Regions from separate parts of the Homo sapiens genome. Here region 2 is linked to region 1. Evidence: promoter capture Hi-C in 16 types of primary human blood cells and fetal thymus (Javierre and others, 2016). All regions are on one chromosome and are shown on one strand. Each heading gives the region's core, a stretch centred on a gene start or on the middle of the fragment in contact. The rest is flanking DNA. Distances are from core to core; before and after follow the strand shown.

What was found. The method cuts DNA at HindIII sites, captures the fragments that hold promoters and counts their contacts. A CHiCAGO score of 5 or more calls a contact.
Region 2: a fragment that was not itself captured here is called in contact with the fragment with the promoter of CLEC12A-AS1 in region 1 in 1 of 17 cell types (neutrophils); the score reaches 6.2 in neutrophils.

What each region holds. Positions count from the first base shown.
Region 1 is chr12:9,949,304-9,954,595 of GRCh38, reverse strand. It overlaps CLEC12A-AS1 (CLEC12A antisense RNA 1), which reads left to right and starts at 1,259. Exons shown (of 3, transcript NR_135047.1): 1 at 1,259-2,046; 2 at 2,517-3,694; 3 at 4,469-5,292. LOC124902874 (a long non-coding RNA gene) reads right to left here and starts at 2,939. Exons shown (of 2, transcript XR_007063207.1): 1 at 1,559-2,939. It also overlaps a transcript of CLEC12A not described here. The HindIII fragment of the contact is 17,088 bases long and covers 1-4,134 here.
Region 2 is chr12:9,839,930-9,846,520 of GRCh38, reverse strand. KLRF1 (killer cell lectin like receptor F1) reads right to left here. Exons shown (of 6, transcript NM_016523.3): 4 at 4,570-4,709; 5 at 4,088-4,200; 6 at 1,516-2,103. The coding sequence ends at 1,995. Among named protein-coding and RNA genes, the nearest start is that of KLRF1, 16 kb to the right of the region's middle. The HindIII fragment of the contact is 1,333 bases long and covers 1,393-2,725 here.

The sequences.
Region 1 (5,292 bases), core at 10-2,509:
CACATGGTTGAACTTTATTTGTTCTGATAGGTAATCCAATAAAGGTTGTGAAACAAAATTTTGAATAAAGCAGTTTCCATGATAGTTTGATTATTTTTTTTTTTGAGACAGGATCTCCGTCACCCAGGCTGGAAGTGCAGTGGTGTGATCAAGGCTCACTGCAGCCTCAACCTCCCAGGCTCAGGTAATCCTCCCACCTCAGCCTCCTGAGTAGCTGGGACTACAGGTATGCACCATTACACCCAGCTAATATTTGTATTTTTTGTAGAGACAGGGTTTCACCATGTTGCCCAGGCTGGTCTCGAACTCCTGGGCTCAAGTATCTGCCCACCTCAGTTTCTTGCGCCCAGCTGACAGTTTGATTTTTTTTTTTTTTTTTTTTTTTTTTTTATTGATAATTCTTGGGTGTTTCTCACAGAGGGGATTTGGCAGGGTCATGGGACAATAGTGGAGGGAAGGTCAGCAGATAAACAAGTGAACAAAGGTCTCTGGTTTTCCTAGGCAGAGGACCCTGCGGCCTTCCGCAGTGTTTGTGTCCCTGATTACTTGAGATTAGGGATTGGTGATGACTCTTAACGAGCATGCTGCCTTCAAGCATCTGTTTAACAAAGCACATCTTGCACCGCCCTTAATCCATTTAACCCTGAGTGGACACAGCACATGTTTCAGAGAGCACAGGGTTGGGGGTAAGGTCACAGATCAACAGGATCCCAAGGCAGAAGAATCTTTCTTAGTGCAGAACAAAATGAAAAGTCTCCCATGTCTACTTCTTTCTACACAGACACGGCAACCATCCCATTTCTCAATCTTTTCCCCACCTTTCCCGCCTTTCTATTCCACAAAGCCGCCATTGTCATCCTGGCCCGTTCTCAATGAGCTGCTGGGCACACCTCCCAGACGGGGTGGTGGCCGGGCAGAGGGGCTCCTCACTTCCCAGTAGGGGCGGCCGGGCAGAGGCGCCCCTCACCTCCCGGACGGGGCGGCTGGCCGGGCAGGGGGCTGACCCCCCCACCTCCCTCCCGGACGGGGCGGCTGGCCAGGCAGAGGGGCTCCTCACTTCCCAGTAGGGGGCGGCCGGGCAGAGGCGCCCCTCACCTCCCGGACGGGGCGGCTGGCTGGGCGGGGGGGCTGACCCCCCCCACCTCCCTCCCGGACGGGGCGGCTGGCCAGGCGGGGGGCTGACCCCCCCACCTCCCTCCCGGACGGGGCGGCTGGCCAGGCGGGGGGCTGACCCCCCCACCTCCCTCCCGGACGGGGCAGCTGGCTGGGCGGGGGGGCTGACCCCCCATCTCCGTCCCAGACGGGGTGGCTGGCCGGGCTGAGGGGCTCCTCACTTCCCAGTAGGGGGGGGCGGGCAGAGGCGCCCCTCACCTCCTGGACGGGGCGGCTGGCCGGGCAGGGGGCTGACCCCCCCACCTCCCTCCCGGACGGCATGGCTGGCCAGGCGGGGGGCTGACCCCCCACCTCCCTCCCGGATGGGGCGGCTGGCCGGGCGGAGGGCTAACCCCCCCCACCTCCCTCCCGGACGGGGTGGCTGCTGGGCGGAGACGCTCCTCACTTCCCAGATGGGGTGGCTGCCGGGCGGAGAGGCTCCTCACTTCTCAGACGGGGCGGCTGCCGGGCGGAGGGGCTCCTCACTTCTCAGACGGGGTGGTTGCCAGGCAGAGGGTCTCCTCACTTCTCAGACGGGGCGGCCGGGCAGAGACGCTCCTCACCTCCCAGACGGGGTCTCGGCCGGGCAGAGGCGCTCCTCACATCCCAGATGGGGCGGCGGGGCAGAGGCGCTCCCCACATCTCAGACGATGGGCGGCCGGGCAGAGACGCTCCTCACTTCCTAGATGTGATGGCGGCTGGGAAGAGGCGCTCCTCACTTCCTAGATGGGATGGCGGCCGGGCGGAGACGCTCCTCACTTTCCAGACTGGGCAGCCAGGCAGAGGGGCTCCTCACATCCCAGACGATGGGTGGCCAGGCGGAGACACTCCTCACTTCCCAGACGGGGTGGCGGCCGGGCAGAGGCTGCAATCTCGGCACTTTGGGAGGCCAAGGCAGGTTGCTGGGAGGTGTAGGTTGTAGTGAGCCGAGATCACGCCACTGCACTCCAGCCTGGGCACCATTGAGCACTGAGTGAACGAGACTCCGTCTGCAATCCCGGCACCTCGGGAGGCCAAGGCTGGCGGATCACTCGCGGTTAGGGGCTGGAGACCGGCCCGGCCAACACAGCGAAACCCCGTCTCCACCAAAACCAGTCAGGCGTGGTGGTGCGTGCCTGCAATCGCAGGCACTCGGCAGGCTGAGGCAGGAGAATCAGGCAGGGAGGTTGCAGTGAGCCGAGATGGCAGCAGTACAGTCCAGCTTCGGCTCCACATGAGAGGGAGACCGTGGGGAGAGGGAGAGGGAGACGGAGAGGGAGAGGGAGAGGGAGACGGAGAGGGAGAGGGAGAGGGAGACGGAGAGGGAGAGGGAGAGGGAGAGGGAGAGCGCTCACATCCTGTTTTTTTTTTTTTCCTTGAGACAGGGTCTGACAGTTTGATTTTTAAAGGCCAAATCTCTCCAGACTCCAAAGAACTCTGTAGCCAAACAGCAGCACATACTAATCAGGCCTGCCTGTCCTTAGAGCAGCAGCATAGAAGCCTGGAGACATGGACTTCCATCCCATATTCACATTCAACAGCAAAATAAATCCAAATATAAGGCAGTGCTACAATTCAAAGACTGTCTGAGATCAGATGAGATTGGGCATGTTCAGCGTGATACGGGTAGAGATGTTCCCTCACTCCACTGGCCCACAGCCACATGCAGACCAACCCTGAAGAATACACCCAAGCGGTCTGCACTCAGATCAAACCCTGATCTCCCACAACTACATCAACACACAAACAACCACCAGAATACAATCTAACTGCTGCAACAATAAGCAAGTCCCAAGAGAGTCCAAACTGAAACAGTTGAGTTGCTTTCTCCCTGTTTGTTGGGCTAGTTCAATCTGCAAATGGAGATTCCTTCGGAATTTCTCAAATTGAGAAAAGCAGATCCTGCTGTCTGGACCCACAAATGACACTCACTTATCCAGACACATACTCAATTACTAACAAGCCCCAAGAGTGTCTGAACTGGAACAGTCAGGGTGCTTCCTCTCTCCGTCAGTTGGCCTTGCTGAACTTGCCAATGGAAATTCCTTCAGAATTTCTCAAATTGAGAGGAGCCATTCCCACTGTCGGTATCCACAAAAGACACTCACCTATCCACATGCAGAAGTCAAATTTGAAAGGCTGTTCTTCCTAGGCAATCAGAAATGTGGTTGGGGCTGGCAGCAGCAATGCTAAATAGAAAGACTAAAACCCACATCCTGCCTAAAACACATAGGCTGCTGCTTAGGGTTGCGGAAATTCTCCCAACTGGTGACAGCCAAGCCAAGAGCAATGTCTTCCTGATGAGGGAACCAAAATCTGTTACTGAAATGCCAGAGGTTCAGCCTAGGTCCCGTTACTCATTGCACAGAATGCCAATCACTGAGGCAAGTATTTCCAGGGGAGATGACTTTATTCAGTTGCTGCAGCTGAGAAGAACTGCAGATCAGTCTCAAATTCATCTCCCCAAGTGACTGAAATTGGGGGTTTACATAGCAGAGGAGGGATGTAGCTACGTGCAGGAAATAATGTAGCTATGTGTGGGAAAACAGAATTTGAATTTCAGGTAAAAATGACTTATTTTTAATGTAAGTATTGCTCATCAATATTTGTATTTGCTGTCTCTGCAATTATCTGTGGTCGATTGAAATTCAAATTTAACTGGAAATCTTGTGTCTTAATTTGTTAATATGGCCAGCATATCCATAAGCCCATTGGAGTGGATTGGCTGAAAAAGATGAAGACAAATTTGTACAGGCAGCACACATTCTTTTAATGAGAAGAGTGACTTAGTCTCACCACCCACCCTAAAGTACACTCTCCCCACTCTTCTACATACCTTGTCAGTCAACCTATTCACCACCCAATCCCATGTTTTTCACAGCATTTATCAAGTATTTCGGTGCCCGGTTAATATTTTCCAGATGGTTGAGAGGCATCAGGATATTCATTATGTTTCTTTTATGGACTAATTGCCTGCTACTCTAAGTCAAGTCACAGAAAGCTTATGGACTGAAGCAAGATCGCAGCTACTAAGGTTTCTGGAAAGTAACTTTGCTAGTAAAAGAAGCTTCATAATGCCTTCGATGGTTATTTATGTTGTAGCTTGTGTCAGAATGTCCTTCCTTTTTAAGGCTGAATAATATTCCATTGTATGTATATATGACATATTTTTATTCCACCCATTGATGGACTCTAGGGTTGCTGTAACCTGTTGTTAGCACAAAGTTCTAAATTCAGACTGCCGTAACAACAATAACAAAAAAACTGAAATATATGCACTTATACACCAAAATGCTAGGTCTAGTTGTCACTTTCTCTGCCTCTTTAAATTTTTCAGGGCAACAGGAGATTTGATGGGGAATGAACACCCCACAGCTCTGTGCAGGAGTGCCTGGAAGTGAGGCCAGTCAAGGGAATGCTGCCAGACAACCAACTCAGCTTCAGACCATCTTCAGATCGTAACCCACCAGGGACTGTGGGCTTTGCCAGACCACATTTTTGGTTACTGCAACTCAAGTTGGCTTCTAAATCTCAAAAAATGTGACAATGATACAGATTTTTTTATCTACTTTTGTCTAAAACATTTAAATACTCATTCTGAAGTAACTCATCTCAAAATCCAATGCTAGAAAAATGGAAATAATTACAGGCAGATGCAATGATTTAAAGGTTTAAAAGAAGCTGTCCATTCTAAAGAGTCAGAGGAAACCTTTCCTTATGAAATGGTTAATGAAATAAATAGGAAAAAAAAATCCAACACAATCACGAGGTTCCAGAAAACATTGTATATTTATTTAAAAAGTAATTTTGTATGAATGAAATATTTCTTAAGGTTCTGCCTTTCTTTCCTTCCACTCAACAGGAAACAAAATTACTGGATTTATGGTCAAGGAAAATCACTAACCCACAGCCCTCAGATGCACTCATGAAAATGGGAAGAATGCATACACAGGGATCAGAGAACAGAGAAACAGGTGAATCTTGTGGTTGGAAAGAAACGCACTTTTGTATGTACACACAGAATTAACTTTACTTTTCCACTAAGCTCTCTCTGAGACTTAGAAATCCCTACATCTGGGTAGGCTGGAGTCAATCCCAAGGCTTTTATGGTTCCTTGAAGTAAAAAGAGCAGTCTCATGTCAGAAATTAATAGGTCCAGTC
Region 2 (6,591 bases), core at 810-3,309, 110 kb after region 1:
AGCAGAACTGAAGGAGATGGAGACACGAAAAACCCTTCAAAAAATCAATGAATCCAGCCGCTGGTTTTTGAAAAGATCAACAGAACAGATAGACCGCTAGCAAGACTAATAAAGAAGAAAAGAGAGAAGAATCAAATAGATGCAATAAAAAATGGTAAAGGGGATACCACCACTGATCCCTCAGTAATACAAACTACCATCAGAGAATGCTATAAACACCTCTATGCAAATAAACTAGAAAATCTAGAAGAAATGGATAAATTCCTAGACACATACACCCTCCCAAGACTAAACTAGGAAGAAGTCAAATCCCTGAATAGACCAATAACAAGTTCTGAAATTAAGGCAGTATTTAATAGCCTAACAACTGAAAAAAGCCCAGGACCAGATGGATTCACAGCTGAATTCTACCAGAGGTACAAAGAGGAGCTGGTACTATTCCTTCTGAAACTATTCCAAACAATAGAAAAAGAGGGAATCCTCCCTAACTCCTTTTATGAGGCCAGCATCATCCTGATACCAAGACCTGACAGAGACACAACAAAAAACGAAATTTCAGGCCAATATCCCTGAAGAACATCGAAGTGAAAATCTTCAATAAAATACTGTCAGACAGAATCCAGCAGCACATCAAAAAGCTTATCCGTCACAATCAAGACAGCTTCATCCCTGGGATGCAAGGTTGGTTCAACATAGGCAAGTCAATAAATGTAATCCGTCACATAAACAGAACCAATGACAAAAACCACATGATTATCTCAATAGATGCAGAAAAGGCCCTCAACAAAATTCAACACCACTTCATGCTAAAAACTCTCAATAAACTAGGTATTGATGGAACGTATCTCAAAATAGTAAGAGCTATGTATGATAAACCCACAGCCAATATCATACTGAATGGGCAAAAACTGGAAGCATTCCGTTTGAAAACCGGCACAAGACAAGGATGCCCTCTCTCACCACTCCTATTCAACTAAGTATTGGAAGTTCTGGCCAGGGCAATCAGGCAAGAGAAAGCAATAAAAGGATATTCAAATAGTAAGATAGTAAGTCAAATTGTCCCTGTTTGCAGATGACATGATTGTATATTTAGAAAACACTATCATCTCAGCCCAAAATCTCCTTAAGCTGATAAGCAACTTCAGCAAAGTCTCAGGGTAAAAAATCAGGGTGCAAAAATCACAAGCATTCCTATACACCAATAACAGACAAACAGAGAGCCAAATCATGAGTGAACTCCCATTCACAATTGCTACGAAGAGAATAAAATACCTAGGAATCCAACTTACAAGGGATGTGAAGGACCTCTTCAAGGAGAATTACAAACCACTGCTCAAGGAAATAAGTATATTCTTTTTCTGCACCTAATATCTTCTTATAAGTTTGAAAGCTTCTAAATTTGGAAAGAAAAGTGCAACATATAAAAATTGTATAAAATATAAAACAACACATTTAACACTTTTACCTAGAAATACTACTTTTAGGGCTTCTATCATAGAAATAAAGGTGCTACTATTTAAGAAAACATTCAGGATGTTTATTGTAGCTGAGTGAAGAGTAGCAAAAGCCTGGAAACAAAGTTAATTCTCTTTGACAAAAGGGTAAAAAATGTATAAACCCACATTATAATTCAACCATTAGAAATATAAGAAATTTTGTTTAGGACCTTATTAAGAATTTAAAACGCAAGATACAGAAAAACAGGCATAATTTGATCACATTTGGCATAAAATAAGCGACGAATAAAAATCCTGGATATGATCACATGAAGTCACATTGGTTTATACTATCACGTAAAAATTTTGAAGTGTACATTTTAGTTTGTTAACAGGGGTTACTCTGAGGCTAGACCAGTGTCGATGATGGAGGGAGAAGGGAGAAGAGATTTTGGCATTTAATTGCACTTTAAAATCTTACACCTGGAGATTAATATTAGAAACTAATAGGCCAAAAATAGTGATCATTGATTATTTCACTGTGAATTTTGTCAAACTCTAATACTGACAAATCCATTTGAAAACACTGCTGCAGGTTTCAGAGAAAATTTTGCTTTCCTTAATGGCAGCACAGCTGTTTTCTTTAGCTGGTCCCTTTATGAAGAATCTAGGGAAGAGAGAATAAATACTTTGTTAATCACTGTAGCTGAAGACATCCATTTGTGTCTTCTGCTAATATCCTCTTTTAAATAAAAAAGTAATTCAAAATCTCAAAGCATTTTTACATACTTGGATTCACTAACGATTACAGTAACTGTAACTTAGCCTTGTTAGCTGTGGTTGGTCAAGAGTTGCCAGAGAGTCTGCAACTAACAGAAGTAAGAATAAATTTCCCTCCACATTCCCATTCTAGTATTCCTCCTCTTGCCCCATGTAGTTCAGTTAGATTAAAAATAAGATTAACTCCATGTGGACACCTCACTTAACAACCTCTCTTGCCTTCTTATATCTAATTGTATAAGAACGATAATAATACTTCATGATATTGTTTAGCAGTTATATGAATTGAGGTTTGTAAAGAACTCAATACACAAAACGAACTGTGCATGACCTAAATAATAAATTGCATATTTATTGCATTATTTACTTATAATGTAACATATTAAAAATATTAACAAATTTATGTATAAAATAATGTAGTGTTAGTGATACATTCTGATAAATTTGTTTGACCTGTGGAAAAAGTTCAAGAAAGAATCTTGGAAAAGGTGCACATGATCTTCAAAGCTTCCAAATTGATAAGGGCAAGTAAGTACTGAATTTTCATATTAGAAAATACACTTTGTCCGAGTTTAGTTTTAAATTTTGTATTGAACATATTATGGACAAAAATCTCCAAGCATGATCTAGACTTAAAACTCAACCCTAACGGGTAGTGATGAATGGATTTGGAATGAAGACAAAACCAAGTTGGGCAACTTCATGACGTTCAGTGACACAACTCTGCTCTCAGATGACACACATCCATAATTTTACACTGCATTCCAAATAATGTTTTTTATTCACTTTTTATATTGATTTAGTGCAGTCAGATAGAAAATATGTAATATTTAATGATGAATAGAAATAAGGGGAAAATAATACAATAACACCATTAAGTTGGTTACTATAATGTACTATTTTTCTATCACTACTATGACAAATTATCACAAATGTAGTGGCCTAAAACAAGGCTAATTTATTATCTTACACCTATGAGTATCAGAAGCCCAAGATTGCCCTACAGGGCTAAGATCAAAACGTCTGCAGAGTCACCTTCTGGATGTACTAGGCAGGAATCCGAGGCCACCTGCGTGCCTTGGCTCACAGACGTGATTTCACATCATATGAATCTCTGTGTTCCACTTCATATCTCCCAATATGACTCTAATTCTGCTTCCTCCCTCTTCTAAGGACCCTTGTGATTTAATTGGGGCCACCCAGATAATCCAGGATAATATCCCTATCTCGAGATTCCTCATTTAATCATACCTGCAAAGGCTCTTTTGCCATATAAAATAACACATTCACAGCATTTTGGAATTAGAATGTGGACATCTTTGGGGACCATTATCTTGCCTGCTAACATAGGAATAGGATTTTGAATTTATCTGTTTTACTGTTTATATTTTTAATTAAATATTTTATTATAAAATAATGCGCACAAAAATGTTGACAGAACTTTTAAAATCAATAATTCCATGCATTTGTTCAGAGACTTTTGGATAATCTTGTTCTATGTTGTATATACCATTTGTATTTTGACACTATGATAATCACATAACACAAAAAATGCACATTGGTTTTATTTTATTACTGAAGATGGCTAAAGAAAACATTGAGACCTTTAAAAATAAGAGACTGCATTCATTCAATCTACTTTTCTATATAAAGTGTGAGAAATTTTAAAATCATAAACCACCATTTTCAAATCCTTTTTCTTTAAAAGTCAAATCAAACTATCCATCATTACTCCTGTAAATACTAAATTAATTTTCATTCTTTTGAATTCTGTAGTACCAGTAACTATTTCAGAGTTGAATTTGGTGAACCTGGAGGAGACATATTCTACAATAAACAATAAATCAGATTGCCTTTTAAGAAAGACTCACATCTTTGAATCTATTGGAGAACCATCCACCCAAGTCCATGTCATTTTCAAGGAGGTAAAGTTAAGCCCAATCCATACGTAGTTTAATTGTCTTAGGTTTTTCTGTATAAAAGCCTAAAATGTGGACGAGGGACTAAATGAACAAAATATTTTAGCAATTCAGACACACTGAATATTTTAAATGTTATTGCAAAAAAGCACTCTGCATAGGGATTCTTATGGTAATCAATTCATATCTTACTTATACACACATTATATCATATATATGTTACACACACACACACACAATTGCAAGTTGAATATATGAATTTGGGCCAGATCTAGCATGAGAAGTGAGGCACTCACTTGGAATACAAAATTTAAGAGGGTGCCCAAAACTCGATAATCAAGGTAAATGATGATTTAATGCAAAGATGGAAAGATATTTGAGGAAAGCCATTTTTTACTGCAAAGATGCCATAACCCTGATACTAGACCAATTACCATTTCAAGTTGGTCATGTATGATTAGTAGATGAGATTTTCTTTCCAAACAATACACATAACTGTCACTCCAGCTTTTCATCTCATTAGAGAACCAATAACACTTCCCTTGGTATTTGAGCCATTCTGATTGGCATAGTACTACAGAGAAATGTAGAAAACAAAATGAAATTAAATTACATATGCATCTCTGAAAATTGGCCATAAGAACAATACTTACATGTTGTATAAATAAGAGTTGAGCTACAATAAAATCACTTATAGCAAATTGTCCAGACACAAAAGATGGCCAAAACACAAATAATGGTCCTTGGGAATTAAGACAATTAATTTAATGAGATGAAGCAAAACCTAGACATAATGGGATTTTTGATGCAAGATCTATTATATTGACTAAAATAGCATGAACAAAATAAAATAGCTATTTGAGAGATTAGATAAAATATAATTTGTATCACTTAGAATTTATCCACACAAAGGTTTTTTTTAACTTTTAAGTTCAGGGGTATACGTGCAGGTTTGTTACATAGGTAAATTTGTGTCATGGGGGTTTGATGTAGAGATTATTTCAACATCCAAGTAGCACCCAGTACCCATTAGTTATTTGTTCTGATCCTCTCCCTCCTCCCACCCTCCACCCTCAAGTAGGCCCCAGTGTGTGTTTTTTCCCTCTATGTGTCCATGTGTTCTCATCATTTAGCTCCCACTTGTAAGTGAGAACATGCAATGTTTGGCTTTCTGTTCCTGCATTAGTTTGCTAAGGATAATAGCCTCCAGCTCCATCCATGTTTCTGCAAAGAACATGATCTCATTCATTTTTATGGCTTCATAGTATTCCATGGTATGGAATGGTATGGTATATGTACCACATTTTCTTTATCCAGTCTACTATTGATGTGCATTTAGGTTGATTCCATGTTTTTCTATAGCGAATAGTGCTGCAATGAACATACACATGCATGTGTCTTTATAATAGAATGATTTACGTTCCTTTGGGTATATACCCAGTAATGGGATTGCGGGGTTGAAGGGTATTTCTGCCTTTAGGTCTTTGAGGAATTGCCACACAGTCTCCCATAACGGCTGAACAAATTTACGCTTCCACCACCAGTGTATAAGCATTCCTTTTTCTCCACACCCTCACCAGCACGTTATTCTTTGACTTTTTAATAATAGCCATTCTGACTGGTGTGAGTTAGTACCTCATCGTCGTTAACATCACTGATCATTACAGGAAATGCAAGTAAAAACCACACAAAGTTTTAAAATCGCTCTCCTTGTAGTTTTGTATGTGTATCCCTTTCTCCCTCTTAATATTAATTAATGATTAAATGATTAAATTATGTCAAGAATAACAATTTATTTTCAACTTCTTTATTTTCAACCTCTTAATAACTGAAATATTATGAAGTTCTTTGATTTTCCTAGCTTAATATTAAGGTAAATTAAATTAAATGGAAAATATCGAGATTTTTGGCATAGTATTGAGAAAAAGTGAGATATATATAAAAATATATGTAAAGGCCAATATAACTATTTTAACTTATGGCCCATTACAATCTGTCTCTTTTTATTTATTTTTTATCGTGATTATTTTTCTTCACGTAACATAAAATTCACCATTTTAGCCATTTTAAAGTGCAAGTGCTGTGGCTTTTAATACACCCACAATGTTGTACAACTATCACTACTATCTCATTCTAGAACATTTTCATTACATATAAACACTAAGTAGTCACTATTCATCTTCTACTCCCCCAGCGCTGGCAACCACTAGCCTGCTTTATGTCACTGTGGATTTAACTATGATGGACCTTTCATATAAATGGAATCATACAATATGTGGCCTTTTGTATCTGGCTTTTTCATTCATTCAGCACAATGTTTTCAAGGTTCATAAAAGTTGTAGCATGTATCAGTACTACATTCTATTTTATGGTTGTAAGAATATTTCATAACATGTATGTAGTGCATTTTGTTTATCTCTTCATCAGCTGATGGACATCTGAGCTGCTTCCATTCT